Regions from separate parts of the Homo sapiens genome. Here all the other regions are linked to region 2. The links are contacts of gene promoters, found by promoter capture Hi-C in blood cells and fetal thymus (Javierre and others, 2016). All regions are on one chromosome and are shown on one strand. The core of a region is centred on a gene start or on the middle of the fragment in contact, and the rest is flanking DNA. Distances in the headings are between cores, read along the strand shown. Region 1 holds the start of LINC01476 (long intergenic non-protein coding RNA 1476). Region 2 holds the start of TUBD1 (tubulin delta 1). Region 3 overlaps LOC105371847 (a long non-coding RNA gene).

Region 1 (4,314 bases), core at 261-2,760, 370 kb before region 2:
CAGTAAGGAGTCATCCTGCACTTTTTATACATTCTTTCAAATGTCCAGTGATACAGAGAAACCTTTTTCATTCACCCCCAGTGACAGAGCAATCTTGAATATCTTGCAAGATTACACCTTATTTGCAAGCACATATGTGAACTAAATTCTTTCAAAATATTGTCATCAAAAATGATTAGCAAAGCAAGTTAACGTCTAAAGTTTTGTGGCTTGATATTAACTCCTTGGTGCTCAATTAAAATAAAACCCATTTATTATTCAGTCTATTTTGTGTTCCTTCATTGCATGCAATTGCAACAAGTAGACATTGGAGGCAAAAAGTAAGATTACATAACACAAAATAGATTCTCAAATGTTCCTCCAACAAAGCAGAAACGAATAATGCTTACCTCTGGTCAGTATTCATGTGGTGACCAGGGTTAGTGGTACTGCCATGAGGCTCCATGTGGCTGGATTGTTGATATTTTCTGTCAACTGTCAGTGACAGAAACTCAACTCAGTCTAGTTTTAGCTCCTGGAAATGGGAAGTCCAAGGGGTGGGTCCTGCATCAGGCATAACTGGATCTAAGAGTGCAAATCATGTCATGGGATCTCTCCTTTTACCCTTCTCTTCACTGCTCTTCTGTTTTCTCTGTGTGGCTTCATTTCCAGGCAGGCCATCCCCATGTGGAAGCAAAGATGGCCAGCAAACAGCTCAGGCTTACGTTTTCCTCATGGCTAGCAATTCAACTCTTGCTTTCCCAGCATTTGCATCCATCTTTGGAAAGAATTTAGATTATGTCACTTGCTCCCTCCTTGACCAATTGTGTGATAGGGAGAATTAGGCACTGTGATTGGGCTGCCTGGTTCATAAACTGATGAGATTTGTTTTAGGGCCAGATGGTTGGTATCTGTGGGGAGAGAAAGGATACAGAAGTTGGGAATCAAGCAGGTTCTGGATTTAAACCCATGTATCTGACAGACCCACCTAAATCCCATAGAGTGGGAGGGTGATAGCTTTCAAAAGAAGAGGATCAGAAAAGACTCCTCCCCATCCTCCTCCCCTCAAGATAACAGATGATCACTTACATGAGATTTTCCCTAGGAGTCAAAATTCTTCACGCTGTAAGATACTAAATAAAATGCAATCGTTTTAAGAAGAGCATACTTGAGAAAATTATCACCTTGAAGTGATGGACGGCTTAATTAGAATTTAAAAAAAGAAAAAAACACAACCCACGGCATTATCCAAATTACTTGAGGTATAACATACAAACTCTTTGGTTTCTAGGAGATATGTAAATGATTCACTTGTATTTTTAATTTGTAAGTAAATGGTGCCAGGTTTCCAGACAGAAACTGAAGCCAAATCTTTATCCATGGAACTTCACAGTGAGAGGCACATCTTAGAGATGAATACAAATCAATAATACAAATTACCCTTATCTAAGTGCCCCAATATTGTACCTCTTGTGCTCTGGTTATCATATTCCCACAGCTCTGGGTGTTTCAAATTAGATGTGGATTCTTCCACTTTTTTTTTTTTTTTGAGACAGGTTCTCACTTTGTTGACCAGGCTGGAGTGCAGTGGCATGATTACAGCCCACTGCACCATTGGCCTCCCAGGCTCAAGCGATCCTCCCACTTCAGCCTCCAGAGCAGCTGGGACTACAAGCATGCGCCACCATGCCTGCCTAATTTTTTTGTATTTTTGGTAGAAACGGGGTTTCGCCGTGTTGCCTAGGCTGATCTCAAACTCCCGGGCTCAAGTGATCCACCCACCTCAGCCTCCCAAAGTGCTGGGATTACAGGTGTGAGCCATCACACCTGGCCTCTTATTTTTTAAACATCTCCTTTATTGTACTTTATAGCTTCAGAATTGAGCTGATCAAAATACATGCTATTCAACTTGCATAGTAAAATCTTTCCTTGTGTCTGTCAGAACCTGCCTAACTCCTTACTTCTATATCCTTCATCTCCCAACAGATACCAACCTTCCAGCCCCTAAAACAAATCTCAGCCCCAGGAGGGCACTCATGTCCGTCATTCAGAGATTTGGCACACAAAGTCATACTCATTGCTAGGCTAGCTCTGACATGCTCCAATAACTGGACTTCCTACTTGTCTCCAAAACCAGGCTTTCTGGTAACCAGTTTTTGTAACTACATCCCTGTCTGTTCCCTGTGCCTGGATCCCTGACTTAGAAACCTACTGAGAACCACACTTTCTTTAGACCTGGAGGCCTGCCTTGTTCTTATCAGTCTCTATTCTTATCATACCTAGGGACAGAAGGTGTGCTCCACAACTTCAGCCTAAATATCTGACAGATAACTCTCCATATTTGGAGATCTATTCAGGGAAACACTTAACATCTACCACCTGAGACATTCCATCTTCTTTGTATTGAGATGACAGGTACTGACTTTTCTTTTCTTCCTTCCTTCCTCTTTCTTTATTTTTTCTTTTCTTTTCTTTTTTTTCTTTTTCTTTTTCTTTTTTTTGGAGACCGTGTCTTGCTCTGTCACCCAGGCTGGAGTTCAGTGGCGCGATCTCAGTTCACTGCAACCTCTGCCTCCCAGGTTCAAGCGATTCTCCTGCCTCAGCCTCCTGAGTAGGTGGGATTACAGGCGTGCAACACCATGCCCAGCTAATTTTTGTATTTTTAGTAGAGATGGGGTTTTGCCATGTTGGCCAGACTGGTCTCGAACTCCTGACCTCAGGGGATCCACCTGCCTCGGCCTCCCAAAGTGGTGGGAATACAGGCGTACAGGCATAAGCCACTGATCCTGGCTTTTTTTTTTTTTTTTGCCAGAGTCGTGCTCTGTTGCCCAGGCCGCAGTGCAGTGACTCAATCTCAGCTCACTGCAGCCTTGACCTACCTGGGTTCAGGTTATCCTCCCACCTCAGCCTCCTGAGTAGCTAGGACCACAGGCTTGCACCACCACACCCGGCTAGTTTTTGTATTTTTTGTAGATACAGGATTTCTCCATGTTGCCCAGGCTGTGGGTACTGACTTTTCTTGGACTGTTACCTAATGTCTCTTGCTGTACCTGCCCAAGGTAGATTTACCCCCCACCCCACCTGTGCCCATCGCTGTCCCTTTCCATGCCTGTTTTACCTTGGTGGAGGAACTCTCTTCCAGTTCTTGCCCTTCTCTACACCTCTGAGGAAAGCAAGATTATTTCCCATCCTGCTGCATTTTCTCAATAACGTGAGTTTCATTTCATGAAAAAAATTACTCTTTAGGCAGAGTATTTTAAGTGGATGCTGGGAGAGTAAAGCCAAGCTGGATTGTGTAATTTTTACACATCTTTTGTGTTGCTCTCATAAGACAATTTATACTTAACTTCCTTTATTATTCCACATTTTGTCATTTTTGTCTCTTTAGCATCTTTTTCCTCCTCCCCACCCCCCCATCACCATTTTTTTTTTCGATACAGAATCTCACTCTCACACAGGCTGGAGTGCAGTGGCATGATCTCAGCTCACTGCAACCTCTGCCTCCCAGGTTGATTCTTGTGCCACAGCCTCTCAAGTAGCTGGGATTACAGGCGCACACCACACGCTTGGCTTAATTTTGTATTTTCAGTAGAGATGGGGTTTCACCATGTTGGCCAGGCTAGTCTTGAACTCCTGGCCTCAAATAATCCACGTGTCTTGGCCTCCCAAAGTGCTGGGATTACAGGCGTGAGCCACAGTGCCCAGCCCTTTTCGTCCCCGTATTTTGATAATTGAGTGCCCCTTACCATGTGGGAACTAACTCTTACCCATTTGATCCATAGATCTTCCCTAGGATTCGATGTGTACATGTTTGGAGAGAAAAGCTGAGGTACTTAGGCTATGATGTAGGCCTGGGCCTACTGGAGCTATCTTCCCCGACCTTTAAAGTCACCCTGAAGAAAGCTTGAAGGCACCAAGTAATCAGGGAATGAAGCCAAGCCAAGTAGAGATGACAAAGAAGAGGCAGAAAGTCATAATGACACATACAACCCTGTCCTTCCCAGTAGGTGAGCCAATAAACCACTTTTTTTTTTTTTTTTGCTTTGCTTAAGCTACTTTGAGTTGAATTTTTGTCCTTATAATGAAGAGTCCCAACTAATATAGCCCTGTATTTCAAGAAATTCACATATCTGGCCAGGCACAGTGGCTCACATCTGTAATCCCAGCACTTTGGGAGGCCTAGGTGGGTGGATCACCTGAGGTCAGTAGTTCGAGACCAGCCTGACCAATATGGTGAAACCCCATCTCTACTTAAAATACAAAAATTAGCCAGGTGTGGTGGGGTGCACCTGTAGTCTGAGCTACTCGGGAGGCTGAGACAGGAGAATTGTTTTA
Region 2 (4,600 bases), core at 2,036-4,535:
GACTCTGTCTCAAAAAAAAAAAAAAAAAAAGAAAAAGAAAAAGAAAGAGAGCCTGTAATCCCATCACTTTGGGAGGCCAAGGCAGGCGGATCACTTGAGATCAGGCATTCGAGACCAGCCTGGCCAACATGGCAAAACCCTGTCTCTACTAAAAATACAAAAATTAGCCAGACATGGTCGTGGGCACCTGTAATTCCAGCTACTTGGGAGGCTGAGGCAGGAGAATTGCTTGAACACGGGAGGTGGAGGTTACAGTGAGCCAAGATCACATCACTGCACTTCAGCCCGGGTGACAGAGCGAGACTCTCTCAAAAAAAAAAAAAAAAAAAAGAGAGACAGAGAAAAGAAAGAGCCAGGCATGGTGGCATGCACCTGCAGTCCCAGCTACTCAGGAGACCTGTGAATAGCCACCGCACTCCAGCTTGGGCAACATAGTGTAGTAAGAACCTGTCTCTACAAGAAAAAGAAAAAAAGAAAAGAAAAACAGTAGTTGGATCTGGTGATTCGGAGGTCACTGGAAACTTTTCTTAGAGCAGCTTCAATGATGCTATGTGGGGCAGAAGCAGGATCATAGGTGGTTAAGCAGGGTCCTTTTATTTTTTTTGGAGATGGAGTCTCGCTCTGTCACCAGGCTGGAGGGCAGTGGTGCGGTCTCGGCTCACTGCAACCTCTGCCTCCTGGGTTCAAGTGATTCTCCTGCCTCAGCCTCCCGAGTAGCTGGGATTACAGGCACATGCCACCACGCCCAGCTAATTTTTGTATTTTTAGTAGAGATGGGGTTTCACCATGTTGGTCAGGCTGGTCTTGAACTCCTGACCTTGTGATCCACTCGCCTCGGCCTCTCAAAGTGCTGGGATTACAGGCGTGAGCCACCACGCCCAGCCAGCAGGGTCCTCTTTTGAGAATCTTAGATGAAAGGCAAAGAGATAAGAAGAAGAAAGCCAGTCAATAGATGAGTTTTGTTTGGTTGGTTTTAAATTGGTGAGATCTGAGCATGCAGAAGGGAAAATGCCACTGGAAAAGCAAAGATTATTAACATAGAAATGAAAAGCAAAAACAAAGTAATTCCCTAGTGAGATGGGAAGGAATGGGGTTTAAAAACCATGTGGAAGGCCTGGCTTTGAAGGGGTTGGTTAGATCAGAGTAAAGGAGAGGACTGTGGGCCACACCTACCTCCATTCTCCTCCTCACTGAAGAATCTTTCTTTGCAAGATGCTTGATATGCCTCATTCTCTCTCATAGAGCAGAGTCCCTGGGAACTGTGTGAGTCACTAAGCAAAGCATCAAAAACTTCAAAACCAATCTGATTGCCACACTGACCAAGTTGCACTGTTACAATTGACATGCTGAGCCACAAACTAGGTGTATTACCTCTAAAAACAACCTGTAATCGAAAAAAATACGCTTTGAGAACCACTACATTACTAATAAGAACAAATAAAATGCCATGTATGTTAATTATACATCAATAAAAAGTCTTTTTTCCCCCCTGAGACGGAGTCTTGTTCTGTCACCCAGGCTAGAGTGCAGTGGCATGTTCTCGGCTTAATGCAACCTCCGCCTCCCAGGTTCAAGCGATTCTCCTGCCTCAGCCTCCCGAGTAGCTGGGATTACAGGCACGTGCCACCACGCCTGGCTAATTTTTGTATTCTTAGTAGAGATGGGGTTTCACCATGTTGGCCAGGTTGGTCTTGAACTCTTGACCTCGTGATCCACCTCCACCTACCTCAGCCTCCCAAAGTGCTGGGATTACAGGCTTGAGCCACCACGCCCGGCCCAAAAAGTCATTTTAAAATGCCACATACGTATATAATATTGGAGATAGAACAGCTGTGTTGTCTAAGGAGCTAGTCATTCAAGGAAGTTCTCATACTCTCTACATGGTTTTGGGATTTGTGATTTACTGTACCTGAATCCATTCATACACAGCTCAATAGTTTCCAAAATCTGATTTGTAATCACTTTTTTCCTAAACATATGTTTAAAACAAAACATTCTCCTCAGTTGAGGAGTGATAAAAGAAAAAAAGAGGCTGGGTGCGTGGCTCACACCTGTAATCCCAGCATTTTGGGAGGCTGAGTTGGGAGAATCACGTGAGCCTGGCTGTTCCAGACCTGGTCAACATGGCAAAACCCTGTTTGTACAAAAAATACAACCATTAGCTTGGCGTGGTGGTGTGCGCCTGCAGTCCCAGCTACTCGGGAGGCTGAGGTGGGAGGATCCCCTGAGCCTGGGAGGTCCAGGCTGCAGTGAGCCAAGATCTTGCCACCGCACTCCAGCCTGGGTGACAAAGTGACATCCTCCTGTCTCCAGAAAAAAAAAAAATTAAAATTAAAAAAATAAAAACAAGACAAAACAAATGCTGATTGAAGAAATTAGTAGTACCACCCTTCACACCACATGAACATGTAGAACACAGAAGTGTGCTCAACATTGTACATTCAATTAACATTAATTTTCTCTCTTCTAAATAATAGCTTACGCTTTCTCCACTAGTCTAGCCTGGTAACTTTAGTAAGACCTGTAAGAAAGATTTTGTGTTTAGCTCAGGTAGGACAGCAAGAAAGATGCAGCTTGGAGAAAGAAAACCAGATGAAATATTAACCGGGCGCAATGGCTCATGCCTGTAATCCCAGTACTTTGGGAGGCCGAGGCGGGAGGATCACCTGAGCCCAGGGATTCCAGACCAGCCTGGGCAACACAGCGAGACCCTGTCTCCATTTGAAAAAGAAAGAAAGCAAAAGAAACATTAGAGCAGTTCCTCATTATTTTTACCTAGGAAAAGACAAGTTTTGATAAAGACTTCACATCAGGTCTATGCAGCACTGGAAATGAGCCGTGGGTTGTGAGACAGACTCTGTGCTTAAAATGTCAAACCGGCAAAGTAGGTTTATTATTATCCTCATTTTACAGATAAGGAAACTGAGGCTCTGAAAGGTTATTGACTTTTCCAAGGCCACAGAACTAGTAAAGAGCAAAGCCAAAAGGTCCCCCGTTCCCCACGGGCCCCAGGAGTTCTCCACACGTAACCCGACTCACCGCCAGACGCCGACCAGCGCTTCTGTCCGGTTCAAACTTCGGACCAACCTACTCACCATGCGCATGCTCACTTTCAAAACGAAAAACTTACTGAGAACAAATGCGCATGTTCCATAAACGGAGAGTTTTGTTGTGTATATATTTTTTCCTATTCAGAAAGATTAATTACGCATGTTCAATTTCAATTTACGAACTTCAGATATGGTACGCATGCTCACTGTCCACCGAACGCTCCAGCTGACAATGCGCATGCTCTAGTCCTCCAAGCGCGACTTCGGCTGGTGTTTTGCGCATGTTTCTGCCAGCGCCTGGATCCTGCCGATAGTTCTGCGCATGTCCACTGCCCACTGTTTGGCTTCACGGAACCCTGTACGCATGCTCCTACGCTGAACTTTAGGAGCCAGTCTAAGGCCTAGGCGCAGACGCACTGAGCCTAAGCAGCCGGTGATGGCGGCAGCGGCTGTGGTGGCTGCGGCGGGTCCGGGCCCATGAGGCGACGAAGGAGGCGGGACGGCTTTTACCCAGCCCCGGACTTCCGAGACAGGGAAGCTGAGGACATGGCAGGAGTGTTTGACATAGACCTGGACCAGCCAGAGGACGCGGGCTCTGAGGATGAGCTGGAGGAGGGGGTGAGGCCCGGGGTCCCCGGGGGCCCGAGGTGACAGGGCCGGGGCGGCGGCGCGGGCTCAGGAAGCGCGGTGTGTCCTAGAGCGTGGAGACCCAGGGGGGCTCCTGAGGAGCTGAGGGTCGCGCGGCCTGAGACAGGGGAGCGGGCGGGGCGGTCATGGCCCTAGGTGTGAGGCCTCTGCGGGGCTCGCAGGTGCAGGTCGCACCCTTAGCCCCAGGTCAGCGCAGCCCCGAGCGATCTGAAGAGGGAAAGAGAACGGGCGCGTGGTCGATTCCTCGAGCTGTTGGACTTGAGTGTGGCGGGGAGCGGGTGGCGTGAGCGTGTGTTGGGGAGACGGGGGCTGCTCTTGCTGGGTGTCCCGTAAGTGCAGGCGAAGTGTGGAGGGTTTCCCTTCGAGTCTAGAATTTCAAGTATTGAATCTTCAGACCTCCCACAACCACCTCTCTTCTCGGCCTGTCGCTTCTCTCCTAGGAAGCGCTCAGCTGTTAGAAGTGACAGCTGAAAACTTCTGTCGGGAGTAGCACTGCCGCTGCTGTTACAGCCACCAGGAGTTTTATTTCGGGAGCAAGGGGGCTCTGCTGCATCTTCCAATCTTCCAGGGTTTGTTTGTTTGCTTTTTTTTTTTTACCCCCTTCCGTGTGACTTTTTAAAATAAGCATTTATAAGGACACACGGCACTTGTAACCTTTCCCCAAGTTGAAGATGTCTGTATTTTTTTCAGAATAATTAATGTAATTTTGAGGTGGAAAAAAAAACCAAAAACCAGTTGACAGCCTTGATTTAGCTTGCCAGAAATAAGTTGCCTGAACAGAGACTTGTGAATGGTGGTATGAGGGCTTTCCTTGCTGTAATTTAGGGTGCTAAATTTAGAATTGTATTTCCTAATGCATAGCTTGGTTTCACCCTGCTGGCTTAGTGGTTTGTTAATCTTTA
Region 3 (4,065 bases), core at 1,190-3,689, 340 kb before region 2:
GGCAACCACTGATTTGTTTTCTGCAAAAGATACTTTTTACTTTATAAGCAAATATTTATGAGGGCCTTCCATTTTTGTTTGTTTTTTTTGAGACGGAGTCTCACTCTGTCGCCCAGGCTGGAGTGCAGTGGCGCGATCTCTGCTCTCTGCAAGCTCCGCCTCCCGGGTTCACGCCATTGTCCAGCCTCAGCCTCCTGAGCAGCTGGGACTACAGGCGCCCGCCACCACGCCTGGCTAATTTTTTGTATTTTTTAGTAGAGATAGGGTTTCACCGTGCTAGCCAGGATGGTCTCGATCTCCTGACCTCGTGATTCGCCCCCATCGGCCTCCCAAAGTGCTGGCTCACGCCTTTACATGCCCGGTATGAGGGCCTTCTACTTAGAAGTCCTTGAGCTAGATAGATACTTCATAGAATACAAAGATAAGTAAGACTCAGTTTATGTCCTTAAATAGCTAAAAATCTAGTCTAGTCGTATGTAATTTTGAGATTACTCTGTCTACACATAATATGGGACTGAATTTCAATATGAATTATGCCCACTAAAGAAGAATAAGGAAGAAAAAATATTGTAAATGGTTCCTGAACTTTTAGAATAGTAAACAAAAGATTCATGAGTGCCACTAATTAATTATAATTTATTTTAAAAGGCACAAATTTATGATTACAGGATTTCCAGATAATTTTTAAAAAGTAAACTCTTTAAAATTAAGTAACATACATACAGGAAACAAAAGTGCAGAAATCCTAAGTGCACAGCTTGATCTTTTCAGATTATTTATGGCAACCTAGACCAGCACTGTGTGACCAATGCAGTAAAAAGACAACATCCTGAAGTCTTATGGTTTAGACAGAATAATTACATCACTGTAAGAAAGAAAGAGATAAGAGAATAATGTTCTGCAAAGGCTCACAAAGAATTGTGGGGATAAGTAGTGAGAAAATGGATGGCACATTAAAATTCATGAGGAAATGCCGTTTAACTTCTATGAATAACAAAGCGATTATTATGCAGGATCAGGTTTTTCTTTCATCATTACAGAAAGACACAAAATCATTATCGTGATCTGCCATATGTTTTTCCTTTGTTATCAGATGCTGGGACAGGCCTATTAAATGTTCTGTGTTACCCAGGGGAATGGTCAGGGCGGTGAGTAATGATGGTCACGATGCATATGGTTTTCTATAGTCCTAATTGTCAGTGCATTTAGATCCGAGGAAAGGAACAAATTAAAAAGGGCAGAATGGCTGGGTGAGCACTTTCTTGTGATTGCAAAGAACTGGGTCTATTCTTACCCTTTCTGCCCCTTGCTTTATGCTTTACACCTGCCATTTCCAGACTGACAAGGCGCTTTGGTGGCGCCTTGGTCAATGCAATGGGGACTACAATTAATTTAAAAAGGGGTAATGCATGCAAATCGCAGAAAAATATTAACACCAGGAGAAAAAACACAGTGTGGAAAAATAATCCTACAAAAATGTTTATAGTGGGGTCAAACATTTACCCACATTATAATTCCAATACATGCAAAGAAAATACTCCTTTTTAATTTCTATCATGGACCTAATTTTTCCTTGCAAGCTTCCACCTTGCTCTATAATAAGAGGAAAAAAACCAACCAAACGTTAAACTTGTCATTCCAGGCAACAATCTTTTTTTAGTTTAAATAGTTTATTTTGGCCCTGCATGGTGGCTTACTTCTCTATTTAATCCCAGTGCTTTGGGAGACCAAGGAAGGAAAATGGCTTGAGGCCAGGAGTTCAAGACCAGCCTGGGAAACATAGCGAGACCCCGTTTCTAGAAAAAATTTAAAAATTAGCTGGGTGTGGCAGTGCATACCTGTAGTCCCAGCTATTCAGGAGGCCAAAGCAGGAGGATTTCTTGAGTCCAGGAGTTTGAGGCTGTAGTGAGCTATGATTGTGCCACTGCACTCCAGCCTGAGTGACTGAGACCCTGTCTCAAAAAATATAAATAAATAAATAAATAAATAGTCACTTTTGAATAACAAATTTTCTTTTGGTTAAATCCAGAATCTTTCACATTTCTTCCTGCTTCCCTCTGCTTCTGTTCAAAATAATGTCTAGCTGTACAGAGGGATTTGTGACCTAGGGTGGCAAGGAGAGGAAGGGCCTCAGATCTATGTGGGGGTCTCAGGATCAAATTTGTCTCTATACCAGAGTGCATGTTTAGGGGAGCCAGAGATCAACCCCCTTTTGCTCTTAGTGGCCTCTTCAGCTAGATCTAGAAACCAAATTGACACCAGGCAGATTAACAAGGGAAAAGCAAACAAATTGTATTAGTTCTACATGTACATGGGGGTATTCACAAGAGCATGAAGTCTGAATAAGTAGCCAAAGCAAGATGCTTTTGTATTTTTAGACAAAAAATGTTACATTTGAAAAGAAATGACAGAACAAAGAGTATCTGGCCAGGGGCAGTAAATTTTCTAGGGGAGTCACTCGGACATGTATGGAGGATGTAAAACAGGTGGAAGAAAAGGGTTACTTCGTCAAGTACATTTATTCGATCCATTGCAGCCTCCAATTCTTTTTTTTTTTTTTTTTTTGAAATGGAGTCTCACTCTGCACCCCAGGCTGGAGTGCAGTGGTGCGATCTCACTCACTGTAACATCCTCCTCCAAGGTTCAAGTGATTCTCCTGCCTTAGCCTTCCAAGTAGCTGGGACTACAGGCGCCCACCACCACGCCCGGTTAATTTTTGTATTTTAGAGACGGGGTTTCATCATGTTGGCCAGGCTGGTCTTGAACTCCTGACCTCAGGCAATCTGCCCGCCTGTACCTCCCAAAGTGCTGGGATTACAGTCGTGAGCCACCCCGCCTGGCCTGCAGCCTCCAATTCTAAGTCTCTGGTGATAAGGGTTTGCTCGCTCTGGTATGCAGAGGGTGCCCCTCCCAGAGGCATCTGTATCTCTTGCTGCATGAAATTACAATTTCTCAACTGTTTTCAATTTCAAATAATTACTATACCAATCCGGAATATTTTGGGATGGCACATTCTTCACTCCTTCACATATCTCTGACTAAGTTATTTACATAGTAGAAATAAGTTCTCTATTATATCAGAAAAGTTGCAAAAGTAATTTATTTCTATTGTTTTTTATTTAATGTTTTTTATCTACCATGTATTTACTTTTTTTATACTTTCCTACCTTCTATTGAGTTACTGATTTATTTTTCACCCTTACTGACTTGAAAGTTATGTTAAAAAAATTAACCTTTACTTATTATCGATTAAAAAGGAGTTTCTCTGATAAAAAAGTGGGGTTTCAGGTTTATAACGTAAAGCTTTATGTGATATAGAAAAATGTATCAGTAAACAAAGCATGTTGTTTTCTTACAGGCTTACACAATTTTGAAATCAATCTTTTCCTCATTGTAATTACATAGAAGCTTAAAATTTTTTTAAGTTTGTTTTATCCATTTTTCCTTGTATACTTTACCTTTGGTGGCAAGTTCACAGTTACCAAGTATATTTTCTTCACAGTGGTAAAATTAACAAGAACTTACTTTTGCTTTTTTTATTTATAAGAACAATATCACTTCCTTTTACTGAATCAATGTTTACTCTTAAATTTGTAACATGCATGGCTCAACTTGGTCTAAGATACTGTCAGCCTCTTTTGAACAGTATACAATCTGAGAAACTTTATTCCTCCCATTCTTCCTGTTATTATAGTAATTTGGTTTCACCTTTTCAAAAACCCTCTCAACTTAGAGTATTAATTTATTTATTTTTATTTTTGTTTTATTTTTTATTTATTTATTTTTGAGACGGAGTCTCGCTCTTGTTGCTCAGGCTGGAGTGCAGTGGTGTGATCTCAGCTCACTGCAACCTCTACCTCCCGGGCTCAAGCAATTCTCCTGCCTCAGCCTCCCGAGTAGCTGGGATTACAGGTGCACGCCACCATGCCCGGCTAATTTTTGTATTTTTGGTAGGACAGGGTTTCACCTTGTTGGCCAGGCTGGTCTCGGACTCCTGACCTCAAGTGATCTGCCCGCCTCAGCCTCCCAAAGTATAGGGATTACAGATGTGAACCACCGTGCCTG

Evidence for each region. The method cuts DNA at HindIII sites, captures the fragments that hold promoters and counts their contacts. A CHiCAGO score of 5 or more calls a contact.
Region 1: a fragment that was not itself captured here is called in contact with the fragment with the promoter of TUBD1 in region 2 in 1 of 17 cell types (neutrophils); the score reaches 5.0 in neutrophils.
Region 3: a contact is called between a fragment that was not itself captured here and the fragment with the promoter of TUBD1 in region 2, in 1 of 17 cell types (activated CD4 T cells). The highest score is 6.5, in activated CD4 T cells.

The regions. Positions count from the first base shown.
Region 1 is chr17:59,526,091-59,530,404 of GRCh38, forward strand. It overlaps LINC01476 (long intergenic non-protein coding RNA 1476), which reads right to left and starts at 767. Exons shown (of 3, transcript NR_110813.1): 1 at 390-767. LOC105371847 (a long non-coding RNA gene) reads left to right here and starts at 3,701. Exons shown (of 3, transcript XR_934889.2): 1 at 3,701-3,986. The HindIII fragment of the contact is 4,739 bases long and covers 1-3,880 here.
Region 2 is chr17:59,889,658-59,894,257 of GRCh38, forward strand. TUBD1 (tubulin delta 1) reads right to left here and starts at 3,286. Exons shown (of 9, transcript NM_016261.4): 1 at 3,040-3,286; 2 at 1,174-1,384. The coding sequence starts at 1,345. RPS6KB1 (ribosomal protein S6 kinase B1) reads left to right here and starts at 3,464. Exons shown (of 15, transcript NM_003161.4): 1 at 3,464-3,668. The coding sequence starts at 3,528. RefSeq lists an enhancer at 3,212-3,491 and a silencer at 3,682-3,881. The HindIII fragment of the contact is 20,828 bases long and covers 1-4,600 here.
Region 3 is chr17:59,546,391-59,550,455 of GRCh38, forward strand. All of the region lies in intron 2 of LOC105371847 (a long non-coding RNA gene), which reads left to right. Among named protein-coding and RNA genes, the nearest start is that of DHX40, 17 kb to the right of the region's middle. The HindIII fragment of the contact is 1,723 bases long and covers 1,579-3,301 here.